5 separate regions of the Homo sapiens genome follow, and regions 1, 2, 3 and 4 are each linked to region 5. The links are contacts of gene promoters, found by promoter capture Hi-C in blood cells and fetal thymus (Javierre and others, 2016). All regions are on one chromosome and are shown on one strand. Each heading gives the region's core, a stretch centred on a gene start or on the middle of the fragment in contact. The rest is flanking DNA. Distances are from core to core; before and after follow the strand shown. Region 1 has its middle 2.8 kb from the start of ALG14. Region 2 overlaps PTBP2 (polypyrimidine tract binding protein 2). Region 3 overlaps DPYD (dihydropyrimidine dehydrogenase). Region 4 has its middle 5.4 kb from the start of PTBP2. Region 5 holds the start of RNPC3 (RNA binding region (RNP1, RRM) containing 3).

Evidence for each region. The method cuts DNA at HindIII sites, captures the fragments that hold promoters and counts their contacts. A CHiCAGO score of 5 or more calls a contact.
Region 1: a fragment that was not itself captured here is called in contact with the fragment with the promoter of RNPC3 in region 5 in 3 of 17 cell types (activated CD4 T cells, total CD4 T cells and naive CD4 T cells); the score reaches 17.0 in activated CD4 T cells.
Region 2: a contact is called between a fragment that was not itself captured here and the fragment with the promoter of RNPC3 in region 5, in 1 of 17 cell types (total CD4 T cells). The highest score is 7.1, in total CD4 T cells.
Region 3: a contact is called between a fragment that was not itself captured here and the fragment with the promoter of RNPC3 in region 5, in 1 of 17 cell types (non-activated CD4 T cells). The highest score is 8.2, in non-activated CD4 T cells.
Region 4: a fragment that was not itself captured here is called in contact with the fragment with the promoter of RNPC3 in region 5 in 3 of 17 cell types (activated CD4 T cells, total CD4 T cells and total B cells); the score reaches 7.0 in activated CD4 T cells.

What each region holds. Positions count from the first base shown.
Region 1 is chr1:95,074,369-95,077,073 of GRCh38, forward strand. No RefSeq gene overlaps it. Among named protein-coding and RNA genes, the nearest start is that of ALG14, 2.8 kb to the left of the region's middle. The HindIII fragment of the contact is 4,740 bases long and covers 1-2,705 here.
Region 2 is chr1:96,738,281-96,740,980 of GRCh38, forward strand. All of the region lies in intron 2 of PTBP2 (polypyrimidine tract binding protein 2), which reads left to right. Among named protein-coding and RNA genes, the nearest start is that of PTBP2, 18 kb to the left of the region's middle. The HindIII fragment of the contact is 4,459 bases long and covers 1-2,700 here.
Region 3 is chr1:97,910,675-97,913,374 of GRCh38, forward strand. The region is part of intron 1 of DPYD (dihydropyrimidine dehydrogenase); the gene reads right to left. Among named protein-coding and RNA genes, the nearest start is that of DPYD, 9.0 kb to the right of the region's middle. The HindIII fragment of the contact is 6,602 bases long and covers 1-2,700 here.
Region 4 is chr1:96,715,040-96,717,739 of GRCh38, forward strand. No RefSeq gene overlaps it. Among named protein-coding and RNA genes, the nearest start is that of PTBP2, 5.4 kb to the right of the region's middle. RefSeq lists enhancers at 1-693, 694-1,621. The HindIII fragment of the contact is 153 bases long and covers 1,296-1,448 here.
Region 5 is chr1:103,524,321-103,527,020 of GRCh38, forward strand. It overlaps RNPC3 (RNA binding region (RNP1, RRM) containing 3), which reads left to right and starts at 1,379. Exons shown (of 15, transcript NM_017619.4): 1 at 1,379-1,942. The coding sequence starts at 1,751. RNPC3-DT (RNPC3 divergent transcript) reads right to left here and starts at 1,188. Exons shown (of 4, transcript NR_168321.1): 1 at 1,076-1,188. RefSeq lists a silencer at 1,171-1,270 and an enhancer at 1,591-1,830. The HindIII fragment of the contact is 7,657 bases long and covers 1-2,700 here.

The DNA of each region.
Region 1 (2,705 bases), core at 42-2,541, 8.5 Mb before region 5:
AGTCTCACTCTGTCGCTTGGCTGGAGTGCAGTGGCACAATCTTGGCTCACTGCAACCCCCACCTCCCAGGTTCAAGCGATTCTCCTGCCTCAGCCTCCCAAGTAGCTGGGACTACAGGCATGCACCACCATGCCTGGCTATTTTTTTTTTTTTTTTTTTTAGTAGAGACAGAGTTTCACCATGTTGGCCAGGCTGGTCTCGAACTCCTAACCTCAGGTGATCTGCCCGCCTCTACCTCCCAAAGTGCTGGGATTACAGGCATGAGCCACTGCGCCCGGCTCCATCAAATCTTCTTAACTATACATTCTCGCAGTAAGACCTTAAAGTGGATATTAGTTCCCTTTTTACAGACAAAGAAGTAGATTCCATAAAAGTTAAATAATTTGCCTAAGTCTACTTAGCTAGTAAGGGTGGAGAAAGTTCATAGTTGTGGACTTAGAAGTCAGTGTCTCTCAAATTTTAATGGAATCAGAATTCTCTGGGCTTACAAATGCGTAGTTGGAAGTCCAGAGGTAGGGTCTTTGGTGTAGTAAGAAAAACAGCTCAAGGATAATACAAGGAGTATCATTTACTTGTATATGCCCACTCTGCCATTCCTAATAATGTCTTCAACCTGAAACAGTCTTACCTGATACTTAAGACACTAGTGGTCCCAGAATGGGATGTGTGGATGGTTACATCCAACAGGGCAATCTCCATAGCCAAAAAAGAGGTTATCTTGTCGGGTCTTTTTTGCCCCTCCCCCCCAGTCTTGCTCTGTGGCACGGTCTCGGCTCACTGCAACCTCCACCTCTGGGATTCAAGCAATTCGCCTGGCTTAGCCTCCCAAGTAACTGGGACTACAGGTATGCGCCACCACACCCAGCTAATTTTTGTATTTTTAGTAGAGACGGGGTTTCACCATGTTGGTCAGGTTGGTCTTGAACCTGACCTCATGATCCGCCCACCTCAGCCTCCCAAAGTGCTGGGATTATACGGGTGAGCCATGACGCCCGGCCTGCTTTATTTTTTATTTTTTTAAAGGCAAGGAAACTTATTCTAGAACCCCTCACAGCAGACTTTCTTTCACTCCTTTTGGCCATACTTATATCACTTTCCCAGGCATAAAAGGAAAGCGACTTCAAAGCTGGTGGAGGTGGGAGGAGGATGATCTACAACTCACCTGTAATACATGGCTGTTGGATGGAGGGTGGGTACTGAACAAAATAGGCATTCTCTCAGTGAGGAGGAAGCTGCAGGGAGGGTTGTTGGGTAGGCAAACAATAGCATCTAGATTGCTGTGATGATGATGTGTCTGAAACAGCTTTGTAAACTGACACATGCAATGAAAATGTCAGGCATATGATAATTACTTAGCTCCAGGCCCCAAGCTCTATATTAAGGTAGATTTAATACTTGGAGGACACCCTTGCATTTCCCATTACTTCATCCCCTCACTATTATAATTACCTATATCTGTAGGAAATATTAGTTTGACCACACTTGGCATGTAGCTGGAATGAATGGAAGCAATCAAACATTGGGGGCTTGCAAGGAAATGCAGAGAATCAAAGAGGGTGGGGTACCAGACATTGTTTGGACTTATTGGTTGAATTATTCTGAATTAAGGTGATCATAAAACTCTTTAGTTTTCCTGCCAAGAAAGTTGAGAACTGCAGGGAGCAGCTAGGTAGCAGGCAGGGACAGGAACATAGCTGAGAATTCCTGCCAAAAATGTCACCTGGGTAAGCCAAGTCCTGGGCTGTGACAGACACAGAATGTATAGATAATCAAGAAGTCAAGAAGCTGTAGTGGGCCAGGCATGGTGGCTCATGCCTGTAATCTCAGCAATCTAGGAGGCCAAGGCAGGAGGATCACTTGAACCTCAGAGTTTGAGACCAGCCAAGGCAACAGAGTGAGACCCTATCTCTGTAAAAAATTAACCAGGCATGATGGTGGTGTGTACCTGTAGTCCCAGCTACTCAGGAGGCTGGGGTGGGAGGTTTGCTTAAACCCAAGAGATCAAGGCTGCAGTGAGCCATATTTGCACTACTGCACTCCAGCCTGGGTGACAGAGACCCTGTCTCAAAAAAAAAAAAAAAAAAAAAAAAAAAAAAAAGGCCAGGTGCGGTGGCTCATGCCTGTAATCTCAGCACTTTGGGAGGCTGAGGAGGGTGGATCAGCTGAGATCGGGAGTTTCAGACCAGCCTGACCAACATGGAGAAACCCCGTCTCTACTAAAAATACAAAATTAGCAGGGCATGGTGTCACATGCCTGTAATCCCAGCTACTCAGGAGGCTGAGGCAGGAGAATTGCTTGAACCCGGGAGGGGGAGGTTGCAGTGAGCTGAGATCGTGCCATTGCACTCCAGCCTGGGCAACAAGATCGAAACTCTGTCTCAAAAAAAAAAAAAAAAAGCTATAGTGGATTAATCAGGAAAGTTAAGACTGAGTGAGAAGAAGCAACAATTAAAATTTCTCTTGGGAAGATGAGTTGCGCTGACAGTACATTTAACAGATTCATGGAAGTAAATTATAGTGCTGCAAAAAGCATGAAAACTATGTTAATAGTTGACAAAATGAATAACGATATGTGGTCTATAACCAGTCATAAGTAAAGCATGTCTGGGAGGTGATTTTTTTTTTTTTTTTTCTGAGACAGGGTCTCACTCTGTCACCCAGGTTGGCATGCAGTGATGCGCTCTCAGCTCACTGCAGCCTCAACC
Region 2 (2,700 bases), core at 70-2,569, 6.8 Mb before region 5:
ATAAGGTGAGTTTTTTTTGTTTGTTTGTTTTGAGATGGAGTCTCGCTCTGTTGCCCAGGCTGGAGTGCAGTGGTGGGATCTCGGCTCACTGCAGGCCATTCTCCTGCCTCAGCCTCCCGAGTAGCTGGGACTGCAGGTGCCTGCCACCACACCTGGCTAATTTTTTGTATTTTTAGTAGAGATGGGGTTTCACCGTGTTAGCCAGGATGGTCTAGATCTCCTGACCTTGTGATCCGCCCGCCTCGGAAATACTTTGCATTGTTGGATTGATTGGGTTTGAGCCCCTGTTGTACTTAAGTGATTATGAACAAGTCTTTTATAATCTGAATTTCCCTTTCCTAGTTTGTAATATTGAGGATAATAATTTCTAACTTGCATGATTGTTGTGAAGATTAAATAAGACAATGATATTGGTAGGAGCTCTTTATAATCTTTCTCTCTTATGTACAATTCAAATATATGTCGGTTTAAATACCAAAATACCACTTTAAAAAATCTGGGCTGAAATGGACACTTCTAATGTAGGAGTAGTGCTTTAGAAAATAATGCTTTGTTTCGTATTCTTTTCCTAGTATTTTATGTCTAGTAACTCATAAGGAAAAAATGATCAGATAAGTATATTTTTTAGATGCTGATTACAGCATTATTTAAATAGTAGAAATAACAACTGTTCAGTGATAAGACAATGAATAAATTCTGTTCATAAACATTACAAATGTTTTTTAAATATTTTTCATATGTGTGAAAAGTAGGATTAAAAATAACTTTGACAAATGCATACAATTTATATGTGTCCCCAAAAGCTGGAGGGCAGTGTACCAAAATAGAGTAGTTTTCTCCAGGTTGATGGGATTAGTTTTTTGTAATTCTTTATATATTTTCTCTATATTCCACATTTTAAGTATTTTATGATAAAGTTATTAATATTGATAAAGTTATTAATGTTGCTTAATTGATTAAACCCTGATATTTTCTTGTTTCTTTAAAAAACGTTGCATAACTTGATATAAATCTTTTTAATTGTACAAAAAAACACATAAAATTTACTATCTTAACCATTTTTAAGTGTACACTTAAATTGTTTAATTATTCTTATACGTACTTAATAATATTACATTGCAAAACCCATCTCCAGAACTTTTTGGAGAACTGAAACTCTATACTGATTTTAAAACTCCCTCTTTTGTCCTTCTGCTGGTAACCAGCATTCTATTTTCTGTGTCTATGAATTTGACTACTTTAAATACCTCACATAAGTGGAATTATACAGTATAGGTTAAGCATCCCTAATCTGAAAATCCAAAGTCTGAATGCTACAAAATCTGAAACTGGTGTGTGTTTTTTTTTTTTTTTTTTTTTTTTTTGAGACGGAGTCTTACTCTGTCGCCCAGGCTGGAGTGCAGTGGCGCGATCTCTGCTCACTGCAAGCTCCACCACCCGGGTTCACGCCATCTTCCTGAGTAGCTGGGACTACAGGCGCCCGCCACCACGCCCGGCTAATTTTTTGTATATATATATATATTTTTTAGTAGAGACGGGGTTTCACTGTAGCCAGGATGGACTCTTATCTCCCGACCTCGTGATCCGCCTGCCTCGGCCTCCCAAAGTGCTGGGATTACAGGCCTGAGCCACCGCGCCTGGCCAATCTGAAACTTTTTGAGCACTTACTTGATGCTCAAAGGAAGTGCTTAGTGGAGCATTTTGGATTTTAGATTTTCAGATTAGGAATGCTCAGGTTGTGTTTGTCCTTTTGTGACTGGCTTATATTCACTTAATATAATGTCCTCAGGGTCCATCCATTTTGTAGCATGTGACAAGATTTCCTCCCTTTTTAAGGCTACATAGCATTCCATTGTGGTACACAAAAGTTCATTTGAAGCCCCCTGTGTCATAACTCAGACTTCCATAACAAAATACCATAGACTGAGTGACTTAAAAAACAGAGATTCGTTTTCTCACAGTTCTGGAAACTGGGAAGTCCAAGATCAAGGTACCAGCAAGGCAACTTTCCTTCTGAGGCCACTTCTCTTGAAGTGAGGCCACCATTTTACTTTGTGTGCCTCACATGACCTTTTCTTTGTGAGCACACTTTGGGGGAGTGGGTGGCAGAAGCTCTCTGGTATTTCTTCTCATAAAGGCATTAATCCCATCATGAAGGCCTTACTCTCATGATCTCATGAAATCCTCCAGTTAACTCCTAAAGGCCCTGTTTCAAAATTGCATCACATTTGGGGTTAGGACTTCAGCATGTGATTTTTGGGGAAACATAAGCATTGAGTTGATAATACCCTGCATATAGTTGACCCATACTTCTCCACTCCAGGTAATTACTATACTAAATTTGATGTTTACCATTCCCATAAATTTCTCATTTACTACATGTTTATGTATTTTTATCTTAAGCAATATATGGTTTTGTTTTGCATGTTTAAACTATAGATGTACTATCATGCTGTATGTATTCTGTAATTTGCTTTTCTTGTTCAGTGTTATTTTTGTTAAGTTTATATATATATATATTTTCATTGCCATATAGTATATGATATATGAATATATCATCTTGACAAATGAGTTAATATTTGACGAGATTGATTTGTCAAATATTTTAAATTTTTTTCCATTACAAACTGCTACTGTAAGCATTAATATGCATATTCTAACGTGTTAATATTAGAGTTTCTCATAGATTGTGTCTTTTCA
Region 3 (2,700 bases), core at 58-2,557, 5.6 Mb before region 5:
TCTATGCTGTCCTTCCACTACAATCAGACTAAATATTAATTATCTGTTACTCATCATCAATAAATATTATAAAGGACAGAGGTTATCAGTCTACTGCTGTTTCTGAATTTATCTGAGGTTTGGGGAGATTTTATGTTTCCAAGATAACATTCATTTTGTTGTGATCTCATGATACATTAGCATCTAGTTTTCTTAAAATCTGTTATACTTCTACTTTTCTTATTTGTATTCTTATTTACATTTTTTTATTTTACTCTTACATTAAAATGTTGTTAAAATAATTTGTTTAAAATAAAACCCAAAATATTTTAAAATGTGGAAAAATGTTTAAAATTTACCAATATTCAAACAAATACAAATTAAACGAATCACACAAAAGTTTCACCTAATTGTTTATTTAAAAAATAATTTTTATTAACACTTGAAAGGGTATCATTTTATACATACTCATACAGCTGCTAGCAGCTATATTAATTAGTAGTACTATGTAGACATCAACTTGAAAATATTTCAAATCCTTAAAGTAGTCATACCTACCATTGATGATTCCCTTCTAGGATCCTATAATATTGTGATCTTAAGCATAAAGGATGCTTAAGTTTTGTTTCTTACTGTCCAGTCTTGGAATGAAAGGGGTGATGGGCACTAATTTTCATGAGCTACATACAAATTTTTCTCTGCAAATGTTTTTATCTCTTTCAGAAAAGACAGAGCCTTAAGCATACCAATGTCTGGAGTCTGGGTTGCAAGTAAACTTTAGCTTTAAAATGTAGCAAAAATCAAGAGTCATTTTGGTTGGCACACCCAAGGAAGAAGTATGTTTTGCTTCATTTAATTTGTATGTGGGAGAAAAATGTGTTGAGTCAAAAGTAGTTACACTCACGGACCCTTTCTTCTCTGAGTACCAGGAAGAAAAAAAAAAGAAAATGTACACACACATGCTAGTGCATATGCACATGCACACACATGACAACCCATACTTCAAAGTAAAGGCAGGCTAGGATAAAATAATTCTTTGAGAATCTGGTCTGCCAGAGTGGTTTGTTCTTGGGGTGAGGGTGAGAAGGCTGGGATAATATAAAAGTTTCCATCACATAATGAGACAGCTGCAGTTAGTATTACATTTACTCATTCTAGATAACAACCTGAGATTTATCCATTCACGACAATAATCTGAGGTTTATGAATGTTCCATCCAAGATAACAACCTGAGGTCCAACCTTACTCTTCCTTTTCTCCCAGGGCAGAAAAAATTAGGAACCATGCACGCTGTCAAGCCATTCTCCAGAAAGAAACGCTATTATCAGCACTGAGTTAAAAGGAAGTCACATCCACATCAAAGGGAACTACATCCAGATGCCTGCCCGTTCTGTTACCTAGAATCAGTGTTAGGAAGATGAGGCAAACGGTTAAACTGGTTCCATTTCCATTTTGCTCCTTCTGTCTTTGCACCCCAAAATGGTCCCCTTTTCCTTTTTTAAAACATATTTTTAAAGACACTTAATTCAGTTGAAGCATGCAAACGAGAACGGCAGAACCAAAATGCACTATATATCATTGAGCCAACACTCTCAAGTGTATTTCCAGCACAATGCTTTAAGCAAATAAAAAAAAATTGTGCTGAAACATTGTTCTTAATAACTGACTACTAAAAAACAAGGTAAATGTATGATAATAAGAGAGAGGCTTGAATACATTTTGATATCTCCACTCACAAGGAATGTTACGCCGTGACTTAAAACTGAAGTTAATATGAATATAAAGAAATGCTTTTGATAGGACAAGAAAACAAATATCAAATTATATATGACTAAAAGTATTTAGGGAAAGATTACCTCGTGCACAGGAAAGAAATGTACTACATCAATATTACGTGGATGACTTGAGTGGGATGACTATGTATCTTTGGGGTCATCTTTTGATTTTAGTTTTTTGTATGTTTTAAATCTTCTGTAATAATCATGAAAAATAATTTAAAAATCAAATCGGGGAAATAAAGCATAATAAAAGTTAACACTTTTATTACACTAAGGTTACACTAAAAGTTAACAGGAATGAACATTTTGTGGTGAACGGTAACACACGTTACCCCTAGAGATCTGTAAGGGGAACTGAATGCCTTTCTTCTTTGAACTGTGGAGAAGTTTAAATTTTTACCCCAGCACTCCTCAATATTTGGCATAGAGAAATATCTGAAAGAAGTCCCGCAAAGCTCTCAGGTCACTGTGGTACAAGGAGTCAGATTAGTATAGCTTGAATTCTGGGGACCCCATTGCTTATGCCATGGTTTTCACCTACAATCATCAATCAACAAACACACTGAAGAAATTGGCATAAAGAGTCCCATCTCCTTTTTCGAATCTCTGGTCTTAATTTCTAGTTAAAGACAGCATAATCCTAAACATACAAAATGTAAATTTGTTAATTCCAGATCACCCTTACACAGAACTCCAGCCATATATAGTACGATTGAACTTTTCTTGTATTCTCAGGCGAAATTTAGATTTAGCTACTTCATCAGATTAAAAAAGAAAAGGCAGCAAGCAGACATTAAAAAAGTTTAAAATCAGGTGAATAAGCACATGAAATTCATACAGCTGGTATAAATAGTACACTCAATCCTACCAAGTATGTAAATCGAGGAGCCAATATCTCAGCATTTCCTTAATATGAACACACACCAGGTCACATTTCCAAACA
Region 4 (2,700 bases), core at 122-2,621, 6.8 Mb before region 5:
TGTGTTCTCTTCCAAGAATAATCTTTATTATGTGCGCAATATAGGAAGGACAGCCAGCTATGCTGAGCTTTTTTCAGTAAACATGGAGATAAGCAGTCACTATTGCTGAATACAAAAGAGGCAATGTTTGTGCTAAAACGGTCCTTTGCTCACTGCCATCTAATTCCTTCTCTTTTTTAATGTAAAATTTATTTTTATCAAAGTAACACATGCCCATAGCTTAAAAAGTAAATAGTTTTGGAAGATTTACATGACATTTTTAAACCAAAAGTATCTGAGACAGGTTTCAATCAATTTAGAAGTTTATTTTGCCAAGGATAAGGACATGTCTATGACAGCCTCAGGAGGTTCTGAGAACATGTGCCCAATGTGGTCAGGCTACAGCTTGTTTTTATATGTTTTAGGGAGACATAAGATATCAATTAATACATGTTCTATCTGAAAAGGCAGGATAATTCAAAGCAGGGGCTTCCAGGTCATAGGTGGATTCAAAGATTTGGTGATTGGCAATTAGTTGAAAGAGTTTATCTAAAGACCTGGAATCAATAGAAGGGAGGGTCTGGTTTAAGATAAGGGCTTGTGGAAACCAAAGTTTTTATTATGCAGATGAAGCTTCCAGGTAGCAGGTTTTAGAGAGAATAGATTGTGTTAAGATCTCTGTTTTGATGTTAATGCTGGTCAGCTCCTGAAGACAGGATTCTGAAGACAGGAGGGTATAGTGAGGCCACCCATTCCCATCAGGGCCTGAACACGTGTTTTGGGTTAACTTTGGAATGCCATTGGCCAAGAGGAGGAGTCCATTCAGTTGGAGGGGAGGGGCTTCAAATTTTATTTTTGGCTTACAACAAAAACAAAATTCAAAAGTATACTCTTCTTTTTATTTCTCATCCTGTGGTGCGATGCCCCAGAAGCATAAGAGATAGAAGAGTATACTTTTCAATTCTCCCTAATCATCGTGATATTTACCTCCATACTTCTGAAAAATATGTTTGTGTGCCATTTTCTCACCTATTAATTCTAGACATATTCTGCTGACTTCCTACTTTTGAAGATGAGAGTTTATAACCCTACCACATACACATATGTGCACATCCGTATTTCTCTTCCTTCTCTGACAAAATTGTTTCACAATCTTAATTTTATTAGTATTCAGTGCTTATATTATTGTGAAGATGTAATTACTTTCACAAACCGAGCCACAGAGTGTGCTATAATTATATTTCTTTACAACTTTTTCCTTACCCTGTAGTTAATTTAAAACATATTTCATGTGTTTTTGATTAATGCTTTCCCTAAGCTTACCAATAGCACCACAAACCTGTACTAAACATATACAGACATATTATATTTTATCTATAAAAGTTCCATATTTTTCTCAGATACGTCTTTCCTTGAGCCTTCTGGTCTCATATTCCATTGTAACCATAGGACTGCTGCATAGCTGTTGAAGCTTCTTTCACCAACATACAATTTTCTTCTCTTCTATAGTGGATCTCTGGTTTCCTGGGTACAACATCTTCTTTCCTGGTGCATTAGCCTCATTGGGAAATACATCTTCCAGAAAATTCCAAATAAAAAAAATCCATAGAAAACAAATTTTTGACATTTGGTGTATCTAGATTTATGTTTATTCCATTTTCATATGTTACTGATAGTTTGGAAAGGAATACTTTTTCTCAGTACTGCACTCAGAAGCTTTGTGCTAGTCTGCCTACAAGGGGTGTTGACAAGTGAAAAAAGTATCTTAGTACAGTTTCACCTTGAATTGCTTTAAAATGAGGCTGAGCATATTTGTTTTTACTTTCCTGTAATATGTCATAATCTATTCATATGCTTTACCAATTTTTCTATTTGACTGTTGGCTTTTGATTTTGTATTTGTAGGAACTCCTTATGTATTAAAGAAATCAGTACGCTTCCCTTTTTAAATGGTAGGAATTGCTAATATTTTACACCAAGGCTCACGCTCATGTAGGCAACTTGACAGTCTCTTTTAAAATAAAAAATATACTCTACTCTATCTAGTAATTTTTATTTATAGTATTTATCCAGAAGACATATTCACACTTGCAGGGAACATCTCAGAAACAAGGATATTCATTGCAGAATTGTGTGTAAATAGCAAGAATGGAGGCAATCTAAATGTTCCTCAATATGATCTAGATAAATAAATCATGATTTACTTATTCAGTGGAATATTATGCAGGTGTATATAAAGAATGAGGCAGCTCTAAACATACTGATAAGGAAAGATCTCTAAGATGTAAATTTTTAAAGTCGAAAAAATGTTTCAGAATAGTGTGCATAATAGTTACCACTTTTGAATCAAAAGAAAAACTATATATATATAATCAATATATGTCTTTGAACATCTCTGAAAAAATATGTAATTAACTGGTAAGATGGTTTGCCTCTGGAACATGGAACTCAGTAGCTGGAGAGCAGGAGTAAAAAGTATATGCTTTTTATCTTTATGACACCCCCTCCAAGTAGACATAGTATAAAGTTTACAAGTACAGTACTGAGAAAAAGCATTGCTTTCCAAACTATCAATAACATGTGAAAATAGAATAAACATATCTCTGAATACACAATATATTAAAAAAAAGTGTTTCCTATGGATTTTTTTCTCTGGAACCTTCTGGAAGGTGTATTTCCTGATGAGGGAATATATCAGGAAAGAAGATATGGGATCTAGGAA
Region 5 (2,700 bases), core at 129-2,628:
AATTTATCCTTGCTTACTATTCTTCATCTGCAAGTTCCTATCAACTACTTCTAAAACGTATCTCAATTCCAGTTCCTTCTCTACATGTCCACTTTCACCAAACTATTATGGTAGTGTTTTTCTCCAGACTTCTACAGTAGTCCAACTGGTCTTTCTGCTTCTGTTTTTTGCATTGCAACCGGAGAAATTTTCATACCTAAACTTTGATTCTCTCCCCTCAACACACACCTACTTAAAGAATTTGTCAGTTTCTAAATGTTCCTCAAATAAAAAGGGCTCCTAACAAATCTACAGCGTCTACGTGGTCTGGCTCTACCTATCTGATATTTTGGTGGGTGTGTGGGGAAGGTTCTTCTCATGTTTGTCTTCTAGTTTTCATTAATATCTGTCTCTCTCCTTTTCCCCAACCAATGCGGGATGACAGCAGATTGCTGGTATACTGCTTACTGCTGTATCTCTAACATTTATTTAAGTGGCAAAAAGAACTGTAAGAGGAACTCTGGTTCTCCAGACTGTAGCAGCTACATCTAGCATAAAACCTCTCTTTAGAATCCTCAAGGCCCTCTCTGTATGGGGTGAGGGGTACATTCCTGACCCTCCGGGGATGATCCCTGCCTCACTCCATTCAGAATCTAGGCAGAACAGTGGATTAGAATGTAGACCCCCAGTCAGAACACCAAGGGTCAAAACTTAGTTCTTCCACTTTCTAGCTGTGTGATTTAACCTCTTTGTACATCAGTGTCCTCAGCTGTAAAATAGGGAGAAAAGTACCTACACCTACACACACACACACATACACACACACACACACACACACCCCTACACACACACACATACACACACATGCAATAATTTATTTATTAGGTTACCTCTCCCTAGAGGCTGCCATTTCTGCGAAATGAACCCTGGCAGGGGCCTATCCGTCTGCTAAATGCCTACTGATTCAAGAAAAAAGTCTGAACTCTCAACGTTTTGCCCCTTAAACTGAGTTCTCCTCCCTACAATGGTGTCTAATGAGTTGACAGAATAACTGGCTAGCTTTATATTTTACCATCTAAATACTGTAAGAACATACCCGGTATTTCCACACCCAAGTTCTCCTCCTTGCTATTCAGGCCAATTCACTTTCCCAAGGCCAGGGATTAAGAGCCGCACGGTCAGCTCCAGATAGCGCTCGCCGCCGTGCGCCCCGCCCCGCCGTGCGCCCCGCCCCGCCGTGCGCCCCGCCCCGCCGTGCGCCCCGCCCCGCCGTGCGCCCCGCCCCGCCGTGCGCCCCGCCCCGCCGTGCGCCCCGCCCCGCCGTGCGCCCCGCCCCGCCGTGCGCCCCGCCCCGCCGTGCGCCCCGCCCCGCCCTGTGACGGTCCCAGCCCGCACATGCGCAGTCGTGAGTCCTCTTGTCCTTGAGCGTCAACCTTCTTTCCCTGAAGTGGCTGGGGTTCCTGTTTCCTTCTTTGATTGACAACTTGTGTTAACCCTCGCACATCTCTGGGCCAATTTTTGCTTGTAAGTCTTTCCGGAGACCCCTGGAATTTAAATCATTAGCACCGCGCCCTTCCCCGAAGAGTCTTCGAAGGGTTGCCGCTTTTCGGTGGCGCAGTTCTCGCGAGAAGGTGACTTTCTTTCTCGGTATTTCCTGGTTTCCAGAATCCTTAGCGCGAGGCGGAAAAAATATTTCTCCCAGCTTGTGTTGATGCCGCGATTTTGACTGAGACTTCTTCCCACGATTTCTGTTTTTGCTTCTCCAAGGAAAATGGCAGCTCCCGAGCAGCCGCTTGCGATATCAAGGGGATGCACGAGCTCCTCCTCGCTTTCCCCGCCTCGGGGCGACCGAACCCTTCTGGTCAGGCACCTGCCGGCTGAGCTTACTGCTGAGGAGAAAGAGGACTTGCTGAAGTACTTCGGGGCTCAGTCTGTGCGGGTCCTGTCAGATAAGGGGCGACTGGTAAGGGCGCGCCCCTCCGGAGTCTCCCGGGAAGGCATTTGGGAAGTGACCGGGGAGGGGGAGCGCTGACAAGAGTAAAATGGAAACGAGTGGGGAAGATGGACTTGTGTGATGAGAGCTCCCCCATCCTACCTCTTTTTTATCAAAATATCTGCTCTGCGAAGTGGAGTTTTAATCGGCTCGAGTCTGGATTAGTCATAGCACTGCAGAAAAGGGCAAGTGAGAACGACAAAGCAGAAGAATGGAAATTAGCTTAGTTATATTGAGTTTTCGGATCCATCCTGAGAGCCTCACAACTTTTTTGAATTTGGGGTTATTTCTCCTGGACTCAAGAGTATTCTTACAAATGTGCATCAAGGGATTTTTTAAAGTCCTACTTCATTTATAAGCCAATGTTAAATCGTTCATTAAAATAGAGGAGAAGCTACATTGGTGACTTGCGTAAATTAAATGCAGAATTTCAACTAGAAAAAGAGGCTTTTCATAAAAATTTCCCGATGACATCTTTTAGGGAACAATTTTTTAGGGCTGTTAAGAGTACCTGTGTAGGAATTTACACAATTACTTTGTTTTGCTTTATATCCAAAGATATTTTAGATTTCTCTTCATTAAAATAGGAATAGCGATGGTGCAAGACTCAGTGGTTTTAAAGTTTCCCTAGGTGATTTTAATGTTAATGTGCAGCCCAAGTTGAGAGTTACTGAATTAGAAGAAAGACCAATTTTGATCAGTTTAAATGTCACTTATGCCTGCAAATT